Linked DNA regions of Homo sapiens: region 2 is linked to region 1. Evidence: promoter capture Hi-C in 16 types of primary human blood cells and fetal thymus (Javierre and others, 2016). All regions are on one chromosome and are shown on one strand. Each heading gives the region's core, a stretch centred on a gene start or on the middle of the fragment in contact. The rest is flanking DNA. Distances are from core to core; before and after follow the strand shown. Region 1 holds the start of LINC01588 (long intergenic non-protein coding RNA 1588). Region 2 overlaps NIN (ninein).

The links. Contacts are between HindIII fragments. The CHiCAGO score rates a contact against its expected background, and 5 or more counts as called.
Region 2: a contact is called between a fragment that was not itself captured here and the fragment with the promoter of LINC01588 in region 1, in 1 of 17 cell types (non-activated CD4 T cells). The highest score is 5.2, in non-activated CD4 T cells.

What each region holds. Positions count from the first base shown.
Region 1 is chr14:50,001,823-50,008,771 of GRCh38, reverse strand. It overlaps LINC01588 (long intergenic non-protein coding RNA 1588), which reads left to right and starts at 1,252. Exons shown (of 4, transcript NR_126498.1): 1 at 1,252-3,178. LINC01599 (long intergenic non-protein coding RNA 1599) reads left to right here. Exons shown (of 9, transcript NR_131171.1): 9 at 1,353-1,459. RefSeq lists silencers at 5,116-5,475, 5,161-5,674 and an enhancer at 6,736-6,945. The HindIII fragment of the contact is 14,705 bases long and covers 1-6,949 here.
Region 2 is chr14:50,823,042-50,829,746 of GRCh38, reverse strand. All of the region lies in intron 2 of NIN (ninein), which reads left to right. It overlaps LOC105370489 (a long non-coding RNA gene), which reads right to left. Exons shown (of 2, transcript NR_135258.1): 2 at 6,238-6,565. Among named protein-coding and RNA genes, the nearest start is that of NIN, 4.8 kb to the left of the region's middle. The HindIII fragment of the contact is 196 bases long and covers 1,428-1,623 here.

The DNA.
Region 1 (6,949 bases), core at 3-2,502:
TCACTCTGTCACCCAAGATAGAGTGCAGTGGCACAATCACAGCCCACTGCAGCCTCAACCTCCCTGGGTTCAGGCAATCCTCCCACTGCAGCAACCTCCCCAGTAGCTGGGACTACAGGTGCATCCTCATGCCTGGCTAATTTTTGTGGTTTTTTTTTTTTTTTTTTTTAGAGATGGCGTTTTGCCATGGTGCCCAGGCTGGTCTCAAACTCCCAGGCTCAAGTGACCCACCCACCTTGGCCTCCCTAAGTGCTGGGATTACAGGCATAATCATGGCACCCAACTGAGCGCTGCAAGGGTCTTTTCCAAGCTGAGTGCTGTAAGGGTCTGGGTTAGGCAAGGAAGACACTAAGGGTGTGGCCACTTGCTGTACAGTGGAGCAGGGGCCTTAGAACTACATAGAAGAATGCAAGCAAGCTCCCCCTTTCTCTGGAGAAACAGCATCTCTATTTTCCAAGCATACATGCTATACCAGCATCCTTGGAAAGATGATCAAATAAAAGACAGACAGTGTGTCTGCTTGCAAGATATACAGAAATGTGGCCAGGCACGGTGGCTCATGCCTGTAATCCCAGCACTTTGGGAGGCTGAGGCGGGCAGATCACGAGGTCAAGAGATTAAGACCATCCTGGCCAACATGGTGAAACCCCATCTCTACTAAAAATTAAAATATTAGCTGGGCGTGGTGGCATGCACCTGTAGTCCCAGCTACTCGGGAGGCTGAGGCAGGAGAATCGCTTGAACCCATGAGGCGGAGGTTGCAGTGAGCCGATCATGCCACTGCACTCCAGCCTGGTGACAGAGCGAAACTCCATCTCAAAAAAAAAAAAAAAGGAAATATATAGAAGAATGCCTTCTGAATAATCATTTCTTTTTTGAAATTGTGGCAAAATCTCCCTGGACTCAAGGGATGGGTGTAAAAAGCAGTTAGGCAGAGGATGAGGGCCTGTGCCTGAGGCGTCCAAGGGCAGCCCCAGCTCCCTGCAGATCCAGTGCAGCGGGATGTGCAGGTAGATCTCCCTCCCCAGGGCACAAAGCTGGGTGGGGAACAGCTGTCAGAACCAGCCACACCCCACCCCACCCTGCCCAGGCATCAGAAACCTCAGGGAAATGCCTAGATACTCCACCTCAAGGAAAACATTGAGGCCCTGTAGCCAGGAGTGCCCTGTTTGTGTCTAAAAGTTGCCCCAGCCCAAATTTACAGCTGGGAGGATCAGAAGGGCAATCTCTGTCTTCTCCCAAAAGGAAATCATACCCATAGTTACCACTGGGAGCAGGGTGGGCCGTTTACACTCCTCATCCTACCTCGCCATCACCTTAGGAAGCAGCCATTCTCCTTGTCTTTACTGTAGAGGAGGAAGCCTGGACAGCCTGCAGTTGAGGGGACCTGCACAAGCTCACAGGACTCTTCATCACCATGACACCACGCTCACCGCAAAATAAAAATGATCAAACCTGTCATGATGTCAGCAGCACCGGTGTTGGTCTTTGTGGGAAAGAAAAACACAGGCCAGGGCTGCAGCACGATTGTGTCTGCCCAGCTCTTGCAGCCTGGAGAACACCGTTGGATTCCCTCCCACACATGCTCCCAGGCTGCCTGCCTGCCTCACTTACCTGCTCAGGGTGGGGCTTGAGGGTGGCCCCTGGGAAGAGTAAGAACTGGCCAAGACTGAGATGTCCTTCCCTCATTTAAGGTACCGCCTTTTCCCTTTTCCCGCCATCCTGGGTGCATGGATACTTGGGATTAGAAACTGGACTGGAAATGTAATCTTTCTTCGGTTTGGGGCTGAGAACTGGGGATTAGTAGGATTTTGAGTTTATGGCACAGCCTTTTCTTACACCATTTCCTAAAAAGCAGTTAAGATTACACCAGGCACAGTGGCTTACGCCTATAATCTCAGCACTTTGGGAGGCTGAGGCAGGTGGATCAAGACCAGCTTAACCAACATGGTGAAACCCCATCTCTACTAAAAATACAAAAATTAGCTGGGCGTGGTGGCACGCATTTGTAGTCCCGGCTACTTGGGAGGCTGAGGCAGGAGAATTCCTTGAACCCGGGAGGCGGAGGTTGCGGTGAGCTGAGATTGCACCATTGCACTCCAGCAGCCTGGGCAACAGCAACGAAACTCCGTCTCAAAAAAAAAAAAAAATTACAGTCATCTCCCAGAAAAATCAAGAAGGAAGAACCTTGGAGGTTCAACCTATAGAAGATATGTTCTCATGGAATAAACCAAAAATAATTTTTATTTTCTAAAAAATCAAGAACAGAAGTCTCTCAACATTTAAGTTTTACAAACAAATAGAATCTGAGCCACTGGGTTAAACATGACAAACGACACACAGTAACAAATATTGAAGACATCATAATGCCAAAGCAACAGAAGCAGCACCAGAAATGTTGCTGAGGCCACCATTTAATTAACGCAAGTTGAACATATGGCTTTGGTTACATGTGGTTCCAGGCCAGAGGCATGGAAGTCAGTGTTTGTGGGAAAGCCAGGAGGAAAAGCTCCTCTCCCCACCTCCACCTTGTCACTCCAGGTTCTGGTGACCCCATCTCGGGACACGGCCTCCCATTTCACTCCTGCACCAACCCCACTCTTGTAACACTGCACATGCAAGATGTGAGCATCTTCAAAGTACGAATATTGCCTTCTTCATTTTAGAATCCATGATGTGCTTGTGGGGAGAATGAATGAATGCTCAAACATGAATGGAGAGAGACAGAGAGGAAGTGCAGGTCTAACCAAGGAAACCTTCTTTCCTAGAAAATCGTTGATGAGCCCGGAAAGAGTTGGCTGAACAACGGTAACAATTCTTTTATTATTATTTAACTTATTAAGTTATTAGAAAAAGTAAAAGAGTGAGTCGAGGTTTTTGGATTGGAAGTAGGGACCCACTGAGTTCCCTCCAGGATTGTGGAGTTTCTTTTACAGCCACATGTGGATAAGAAACTAAGGGCCACAGACCAAATGACAGGTCGGATGGCAACCCTGGAAAAGTCACACAGCTCAGCCTGTTGGAGGAAGAGGAGCAGTAGAACCTGTGTGGAGCCTGACAGAACCCAAGATGCCATTCACGAACCGAGAGGTCTTTCAAGATCACACACAGTTCTACGACACAGACATTTCGTCTTCTTGCCACTCAGTAGCGGGGCCCATCCCTCTGTGCCTCCAAGGTCCGTGTGCCATGTGGAAAACTCAGGTGTTCTGTCTCTGCCAGGACCTTCTTCCTGCTGCTTATTTAAGTGTCTGCTGCTTCGGGGCCTCAGGTGCCTGCTTTATCTCTTTCTCCTTTACTATCAAGTCTTTAAGCAATTTGCCAAGACGGAGAATCTCACTGGCCTGGTGGGGCTGAGCCTTCCTTCACTGGCTGACCAACTGGGAAGTGGGCTGCTGCCTAGATCAGGTGCGTGCCACAGTTCATCTAGCCGTGCCCAGAGTTCTAAGGTTATGCGCATGACCCCGTGTGTGGGCAGAGGCTCTTAGCAGGGGCCGAGAGCATTGGAGGCATCTTGAGGGCCAGAGTCCCCAGCCCCAGATCACAGATACGGCATGATCAAAATGTGAGGGAGCAGGGGCAGAGATTATTTGGAATAACGTGCTGAGTTTGTATACTTTTGACAATTAAAAGCCCTATGTCCCCCTGATGTTACGCATATGCTCCAGAGGAGCCACTCGGGACAAAGAATCAATAATGGGCGCTTGGTGTGCATTGAAAGCTGACAGTGTATATTTGTGGGGACTATACAGGGAAAGGAATATGAAGCCTTGACAAGATATGGTGAGTATGTATCGGTGAGGTAGGTAACTCATTCATAAGGGACTTTGCAAGGTGGCAACACTGGTTCAAAGATATTACGAGAATAAAGATTTTGTGTACTCAGAGAACGAAAAGGAATGCTGACGTAAGATCACAAAGTTAGATACTAAACTGGCTAATGTGCTACAGGGCAGCAAAACTATAACCTTTGAGGTAATTTATCTGACCAGATAGGAATCATTTGCATCTCTGTAGAACAGAAAAACACTTACTTTTTTTTTTTTTTTTTTTTTTTTGAGACAGTATCTGGCTCTGTCCCCCAGGCTGGCGTGCAGTAGCATGATCTTGGTTTACTGCAACCTCCACCTCCTAGGCTCAAGCCATCCTCCCACCTCAGCCTCCAGAGTAGCTGGGACTACAGGCACACACCACCATGCCCAGCTAATTTTTGTATTTTTTGTAGAGAAGGGGTTTTGCCGCCATGTTGCACAGGCTGGTCTCAAACTCTTGAGCTCAAGCCCACCTCAGCCTCTCAAAGTGCTGGGATTATAGGCGTGAGCTCCCGTACCCAGACAGCACTTACATTTTAATAGTTTCTACACAGTACTATCTCATGTTATTTTATTTTTTAAAATCGATAATGGGACTCTTGCTATGTTGCTCACACTAGTCTTGAACTCCTGGCCTCAAGCAATCCTTCCATCTTGGCCTCCAAAGTACTAGGGTTACAGGCATGAGCCGGGGCTCCTGGCCTAACTAATTTCAGAGTTAAGAACGTTTGGACTCTATTTTATAGTAAAAAATAAGTCAAAGCTACCTTCCCCTAGATAGCCAAATGACTCTCAGATGGGCTCGTTAGACAGTGCTTTAATTTAATATTGAAAGAACTTTTTGCTTCCCCTCCTCCAAGTTTTAATAATTCTTAACAGAGGGAAACAGCAACAAAATTTTTGCTGTAGTGGGTATTAAAGAAGGGAAAACAATCATGAATGCCGGAGTCAAAATGCCCAAGGAGCGGAGGCACCAGCGTTCTCCACCTGGTTTGGCGGCGCACCAGCAGTGTGACCTGGAATCTGATCTCTCTGGAGCTCAGTGTCCTCACCTATAATATGGGGTATTGAACTACACACTTGGCAGGACTTTGCCCTAAAGCTAATTTTCAAAATAAAAAAAAAAAAGCCACTTCCCTTTTCCCACATTAACCCTGAGAGAGAAAGAGGAAGCGGGAAGCCCGCACATGGAAGCAATTTATTGCAGACGTTCCTGGGCTGGGAGAGGAGCCTTCTGACTGCTGCAGAGACCATCACCCGGTCCTGCACCTTTACCGGAGGTGCGGAGAACTGCTCGGCCCGCACCGGGCTCGGGGGTGTTCACGGGCTGCGCTGCCTCCCCTGCGCGCAGGACAGGAGTCGCCAGAGGCCGGTGGTGGATTTCCTCCCCGCATCTCAGCTCTCCGTCCAAAGTCAAATTGCTCTTTTCTCCGCCCACGCGGGCGTGGCAGCTGATATCCGGCCGCTGGGCGTCCCCGCGCCCCCGGGGGCCCCGCCCTGCAGCTATCTCCGCGGCCCACCCGGCGGCGCCTCCCTGCAGGGCTGCTCCCCAGCCCAAACCGCCGCGGCGCGACGTGGAGCCAGCCCCGCAAAGCTGCATCCACCCCCCGAGGACCAGCCCCTCGAAGGCAAGGCCAGGACCTCCCCGGGCGGCTGCAGCCGTGAGCCACCCCTGTTTTGTGAAACACACACTCTGCCATTTCAGGCCGCACTTGCCCGTTGCCATGGGCGTTTTCTATGTTGACACAAGCAGGGACACGGAATCCCTTGACTTTGAGTTGCAGATCGTGGGTGTTGGCGTCTCCGCTGCTTTACCAGGAAGGATGGAAGGGGCTTCAGCCTCCATTCTCACTTTCCTTCTCAAGGAGTTGGCTAAGCATCAGGAGTTTTCTCTTAGGCTTCTCTCAGGTCCCCTTTCCCTGAGAGGTGAAAAGTTTTTCAGAAAGGTGAGCAGCTTTCTCTTTATTCCCAGGGACCACTTCACACACCCCTTTTTCGCCTCCAGAGTAGATGGAACCGTGGAACGAGGGAATCCTGCCCTCTGGTTGTGTCTGTCATCTCCTACTGGGACCAGAGCCACAAAAGCCACAAAAGACCCAACTCTCTCCAGCGTGCAGGCATCCCAACTAGAGGAAGCAAGGAGGCAGAGACCAAGAGGACATCAAGAGGCGTTTGAACCCGCAGAGAGGGCCTGGGAGCACAATGCTGAGCGTAGGTCCAACCACTGCTTCTCAATGGGGTGGGAGAGCGGCGTGGGGAGAGTTGTGGGCATTTAGGGCAGGACAGTGCCCCCCACCCCACTTGGGACGGGGCCGCATTGCATCATCACTGTAACAGCACTAGCTGCCCCTGCCCCCACAACCCCTATGTATGAAATGCAAGTAGCACCTCCCCATCTTTGTGACAACCCAAAATGCCACCTCCTGTGCCCAAGCACTCTCTAGTGAGGTGTTTCCTTAGGTTAAAAACCACTGTTAGATCATTTCCTAAAATATATCTCAAAAGACCTCAATTAGTTCCTTCATATATAAGTAGGTGTTATATGAAAAGAGTAGCATGCTGATATCAGTATCATGCTGGGTTTGGGAGATGGTGGGTTAAAAAGTGGAACAGGATTTACTTACAGGACTTCTCAGAACCTTTAATATATATAAATATATGTTTTGAATCACCAAGAGAGAGATGGACTATGCAGATCCCCAAATTTAATTGGCCCTGGAATTCTTTCTTTGTGGGACCCTTTTGGGTGGAACCCACCTTAGATACCTCTGAACTACATTTTGTCGTCCAGGGCACTCTCTGGGGACTTCTGTGTCCTTCCCAGTGTGAAGTGCAGGAGTGAGCAGTCAAAAGGCCCTTATGTTTTTACTGAATTGAAACACCTAGAATGTGTGAAGATACCAGGAAGGAGGCCAGAGCTTCAGGAAACCGCTGCAAAGATGATCTCACAAAGAAACCATTGTGGCAGGGCTCCTGGAGCACTCAAGTTGATGTGACGTGTCCTACTCCTGAGAGCACGCAACCCTGCTGGCTCCTTGGGCTTGCATGGCTCAGGGAAAGGAAAATAGCCCGGGTGTTTGGAAGAGAAGTATGTGTGGATGGAATTATTCAAATGCTGATGGATGGATTGGGTCTCC
Region 2 (6,705 bases), core at 276-2,775, 820 kb before region 1:
GTGAAGGCACCAACAAAATGGGAGCTGGAAAGACTGCCCTACCATATATCATGTTTCCAGACAACTTGGATATTATGAGATCTGCTTTCTGCTCCTAACTAGGACAGATCCTCTCCTGGTGTTGAGGACTTCTAAGATGGGCTTGCCATACAGCTCAACTCCTGAATTTATTACATCGAAACAGATTGCGTAGTTGTCTTTTGTGACTGACATGGTAGCTTTGTAGGATGAGAATCCTGATAAAGTCCATCCTGACACATGAGGGAAGCCCCTGGAACCACGACGTTTCTCAGTTAGGTCCCCGTAAACACCATAACATACACACATGTTTGCATGATTCCGGAGGCTTGATGATCTAACAAGGAAAATTCCTTTTTTCTGTCAGTTTAATTTTACCTTGAGTCTTCTCTCGTGGTGAGCATATTATATAGGTGGCTGACCTGGAATATTGGTGGCTCTTGCTCCGGAGTTGAAGGGAGCTGAGGATTTCCAGAGTGTGTATAGGAGGAACATTACAGGCTGGCTGAAAAACGAGTTTGTGTGTTGTGGTCTCTTCAGCTATTGTCAGTGTCCTTTGGGAGGTGATGTGAACTGCCCGGGAATTTGTTTGCAGATTTGTTTATTTTCCCTGTTCTCTGGTGATTCTTTAGAGGGAAGCATTCTGCAGAGTGGGGAAAAGGTAGGATGAATGTTCCACAGGGTTGGACATCGGCAAAGTTATTACCAATACAGGGAAAGGCTTCACAGGGGGCAATAGAGAGGAAGCCATCATACAGTCTGCATTAAAATGTCAAGGATCAGTCATTTTAATAGGCACTTGCTCAGAATGGCGTGGGGTTCTTTTTTCTTATTTCTTTTTCATTTTAGATGTGTAATGACCCTTAATATCAAAAGATGTTAACTGTCACAGAGGGGGAGAATAGGGCTCCAGTGAATTCTGAACAGCCAATCTTAATGTAATAGGCAGTATTCTTATCATGAGTCAAATGTTCAAATAAATTGTTTTAAATGTCACTGCAAATGACTTTCTAAACTAACATTTCAACTATCTTGATGCTTCCATTTTATGTTGATAATGAAAATGCATTTTATCAGTCTTACATTGATAAAGGGTGGGCAAGCTTAGCCAGAGCATTTTAGAAGGATTTAAACAGCGTGAAGCCTTTTTAGAAGGCTTATTTTTATAGATGCCAATTCATTTGTAAGCCAATAAATTATCTGGTTTGAATTCTAGCTATTGAACTTGCATCTGTTGGGCAGGGGCTTATGGAGAGACTTAGTGAAGCTTGCAAAAAGATTTTTATCCTATTTATGAATAAAATAGAATTTTGAAAAGATTATGAGATTCTGAAAGTGAGCATCCTTGTTTGAAATTAGGACACTTCTTTATTGCAATTTAAGTCAGCAATTAACCATTTATTCAAGCTTTTGGATGGAAAAATTACAAAGCATCTATCTATACCCTAATTCTCACTTTAAAAACAAAGTTGGGAAAATATTGTTCATAGACGTGAGAAGAGAAGATCACCTTCACTTACACCTCAGGGTACCATACTCATAGCCTCAGGCATCCTAAATTAATGTGAGTCAATATGGCTTAAGAAGTGGAAGTTGTTATAAGCTTTCTCCTTTTTTTTTTTTTTTGTAACAAACATGCAGCTCTGTTTTCTGCTTCTGTAATTTACTTAGTAGTTGATTACAGGTTACTGAATGCACATTGTGCCAGGCTAATGGCGTTTTTTTGTTGTTGTGTTTTTTGTTTTTTGTTTTTTTTTTCCTGTAGCTAACCTGAGTTAACTACTTGATTGGGTAATCTACCAGTTATTAGGTTGAACAAAAGCATGGGTTTATTACATCCTTCAGGATAGTAAAATAATAAAGGTTGCTTACATTTTCGAATAAACGCTGATAGGATTCCCTTAGTTAAATATTATAGTGTAGTTGACAAAGGTTGTTATTTTTCTTTTTCTTTCTTTTTTTTTTTTTTTTTGATACGGAGTCTCTCGCTCTCTCCTGGGCTGGAGTGCAATGGCATGATCTCGGCACACTGCAACCTCTGCCTCCCAGGTTCAAGCAACACTTCTGCCTCAGCCTCCCGAGTAGCTGGGATTACAGGTGTGCGCCACCACACCTAGCTATTTTTTTTTTTTTTTTTGTATTTTTAGTAGAGACAGGGTTTCAACGTGTTAGCCAGGATGGCCCCGATCTCCTGACCTTGTGATCCACCTGCCTCAGCCTCCCAAAGTGCTATGATTACAGGCATGAGCCCCCGCTCCCAGCCATTTTTTCAAATGTATTTAATGTGACTTTCTTCCTGTGCATTTAAGCTTTCGTGTTATATTTTTGTATCATGATTTCATTCACAGTGATATTGTTGTGCTTTTGGTATCCAGCTAGAAGTGAGACACTGAGCAGAGAGGAGGCATTCTGACAGTAATCAGTTTGCTGCTAAGCAGCACTGGTTTTTGGCGGAAGTATTCTCCTATATAAACTCGTAAATGGCTGCAACTGCTTTTTCTATTGAGCTTTTACTAAACTTGAATTTATCCTTGTCACTCTTTCCTTTTATACTGAAAGTAGTCCAATATGGTGAGCCTGAAAATCTGTGCAGCCAATTAAAGTATTTGCAGAAAAGAAAGAAGAAAAAGAGCACTTTAATTTGATCATTGGCGTTATTAGGCTCCGACTTGCCAAATGGTGAAAGCTAAAGGCATAAATGGAGAGCTTTGCCCAAGTGGGGTTTGTCGGTGTTCATCACGTCAGCTGTAGAGTAAGTAAATGAGTCACTGGTGGTCACTGCCTAGTCTGTGGACCCCCAACAGCTATGTCTGCACACAGGTCCAAAAGCATCTATTATGATGCCCTCTCAAGGAAAGCAGCTGAGCCGAGAGGGGCATGCAGACATTCCGCAGAGCTCTTCAGCTGCTGAACCATCTGGATGCGAAATAAAAGGCCTGGGCTAGGGGCTCTAGCATTGTGCATATTTATTACTTGGTTTTCACTTGCCAGACTTTGTCCCCTTTTCACTCGCCAGACTTTGTCCCTTTTTCACTCCCTCTGGCCCAGAACAGACGTCCCCTTTAGCTGGGGTGTCATTGTTACAAGCTCCTTTCTGTACCTTGGTTGAACACTGAAAAGTTCATAAATCCACATGTCCACTCATGATTCTAGCCACACCTCCACCTATTTAGTTTGCAGTCCTATTTGGCACTGTGATTTCATCAGCTGGGGTAATGAACACCACTGTCAGAGTCGGCAGCATTTTGGCAGCCTTATTTTGAGTTATTTGGAAGGAAAATGCTCAGAATAATTGTCATTATGGGTGGTTATTGAGTGGTAAATGTTTTGATTAATGGTTCTGTGCATCTGCTTCTTATTTAACCATCCCCAGTTAGAACTCCAAAATATTGCCCATACTGGTTCTTTCATTCCGAAAGAGTCATAAAGCCTTCTGACAATTTGACTGGAAAGGTAGATGGTGAGGAGAGGCCCAGGTTTATTATGGCAGGCTTCGTAACACTGGAGCTCTTCTTTGCAATTTGAAGTAGAATTTCTCGCTCAAAATGTAACTTTCTTAATCTCTGAGTAAGACTCCTGCCTCTGGTGGGTACCAGTTAGGATCTGACCCTGAAAAGCACTGGATTGCACAGATTATACATACTTAAGTGTTTATTCAGGGGAAGTCATTTACGAATTACCAATTCCTGGGCAATGCCCATTATTGAAGACATGGGACACTTCATGATCATTTTTATATAAGAATTTCTTTCTTTCATGCCCTAAATCCCAAAGCTGCTTTAGAAAAAAAAGGGAATGTGTATTCTATCTGTATATCCCTGGTGCCTTGTAGGCTATAATTATTCAATAAATGGATCAAGGGAGGTAGGAAGGAAGGAACTCTGCTTCTCAATTCCAATTTGGAAAAGTTTGTGGCCATGGAGTGTTGTGTGGGGATTTCTACTGCTTAGTACTGTTCAACTGGCTAACACATAAAGGTGGAGATAAGTGGTTTGCCAATGGCATCATTTCAGAGGTCTCATTCATGTGTTCTGTGTGCATGTGTAGGATTGAGGGATAATATAATTCAGTGTCACACTAGAGTGCAAATCTTGGCTCCACCCCCATTTTGTTCAAGGAGATTAATGCTGTCTCCTTGGACAGTGGCTTAATTTTGCCAAGCCCCAATTTCTACATCTTGCGTGGGAAAATGAGAAGATCCACTTCTAAGATTTGGGAGGATTAAATGAGATGATATACATAAAGTACTTAGTTTAGGCCAGACTCATAGTAAATGTTCAGAAGTAATTCCCAGTTACAGTGCAGCTTTCTGCTTTTATTTGACATTAAATTTATCAATAACCTGCTTTTAAAGATAGAGGAAGCTCTGAACATTACCTGCTGCCATTATCATTTAGTTATATAATGATGTTTATATACATAGTACACTCCCTGCCCATTCTCAGTCTGTTCTATAGCATTTCACATCTCCTGCTTTGCTTCTTTGGAGGTAGATCTGTAGATAATTCACTTGTTACCTCCTCTTCAGTTTACCACTCCTTTGTAGCTGCAGGTATTCTTTTGGTTATCTTAAATTCCCTCTTGTATCAGCTTTCTCTGGAATTAGCCACTCTCGCTTGCTTGCCACATTTAACTCTCAGAACAAACCTTCCAGATGGATATTGTTATTCTCATGCTGTAATCGAGGGGACTTGAGAAAGGTTTTAGTATAGATTCTCCTCCAAAGTTTCATCCCATAGCAAGACAATGCAGTCGAAGTTTGTGAATCCATTTACTTAATTACTAGCCTATTGAATTAAACTTCAGACAGCGCTGCATGTTACAGATTGGCAGTTGGTGTTGGCTTTCTACTTCTTGCTTAGGAGGCTGAAAATGCCTTTGAGAAAGGGTGGGATGGGGGAAGTGGAGGTGTGTAGGTGGATGAGATGGGCATTCCAAAATTTTCATATGCCCATTTCTGTAGACCTCATTTAGGGTACGTTTCCTCTCAAGGAGTGATCCATACAGGAAGTCAATCCATGATATTTACCAAATCCCTGGCTTGAAGAACAGACTGACTGTAGTATGCATTTGGGGGAAGATATAAAAGAAATAGGAGCGTGGATCTTACCATTAAAGAACTTTCTGCCAAGTGGGGAGAAAAAAATTCTTGCACATGAAATTACTGATGAACATTTGGGAAATAATATCAACCAGTAAAAATGCCTTCTGTGCCAGATGAGCACTGACAACTTGTCACCATGCGTAACATCTCCTGGATGTTTCAGCGTGAGCATTTGTTCCACAGGGGTGGTGCTTGTCTCCCCTTCAGTCAAGCACAGTGTTTTGAGAAGGAAGGAGATGAAATAAAGAGATAAAGAAAAGAAAGCTGCCATAAAATGAAAGAGGTTTGATTTAGTGAAAATCCAATGACCTCCCAAAGAGTGGGGCATGATAGTATATCAAATTCGACACCGTGGATAAGATCAGGGCTTCTCAGTACATCAGTGTTTTATTCCTCTCTTTCATTGGTTTAAGATGGACAAATCCCCGCCCCTTAAAAATAATTTTTAAAAAGGGAAGTGTTAGAATTCTTTCGCTTTTGAGTTTTTAAACATATATGCAAAATCAAGCAAAAGAAGAGTCTTGCTTTTATGAGGTCGGTCAGATAACAGCCCAGGGGACTGTAAAACTCAGAGTGAGACTAAGAGCTACCGCAACACTGAAAATCCTGGAGCACCTTGGGGATTCTCAGCAGATCTTAGTTGACAATTAACTGGTGGACTCTAAGTGAATCTTGTTAGCGAAGTGTTGGCCTTGTCTAAATTCTTAACTCCTGTGGCTTTGCATAACAACTTGGTGTTTCTTTTCTGAGGCTTTGATGTTTATATAACACTCTCAACTTATTTTGAAAACATTTACATAGTGATTAGTTAACCCAACAGACCAATCCTGGGAAGACAGCCAGAGCCTGCAGCACCTTAGTAACAGAAAAACTGATAATTAGGAGAAGAGACCTGTCCAAGACCAGGAACCTGGACCAAAATTGTGCCATGTTGCTTTACTTTAATGAGTGGCCCCAGTAAAAACTGAGCTGTATGGCAGAGCTGTTCACATTTATCTTCTGTGTCCACCCAGTTCTGCTGAAACCCCTGGCAAGATCGTGGCCCTGTTGTAGCTTGTCATGTTTTGAACAGCTGTCTATGGAAAGAAAGCAAACACAACCTAGAGCAACATTGATTTGTTTTAGAAAGCTCTTTTATTTTCAGTTCTGGCTGTGTTCAACATCTTAGCTTACGTTTTTCATGTTGTAATGATCTGCCGTATGGACGATCACCTCTAAGTTAGAGAGTTCTGTAATTTGGCTTGGATTAAAGATGCTTGGTTAGTGAAAGCTGCTGCTTTTTTTATAGTCAAAGGACTGGTTCTGAGAGCCTTGTTGCAGATGGCTGAGGTCACCGTCCCAAGGGTGTATGTCGTGTTTGGCATCCATTGCATCATGGCGAAGGCATCTTCAGATGTGCAGGTTTCAGGCTTTCATCGGAAAATCCAGCACGTTAAAAATGAACTGTCATGCAAGGAAAAAAAAAAAACCACAGATTTCATTAGTAAAATACGAGCTACCTGGAATTTTATGATGTATATTTTTAACAAAAATGACTCAGTTATTGACGTCTCCAAGTTTTTACTGATCCTAAGGACAGTGGC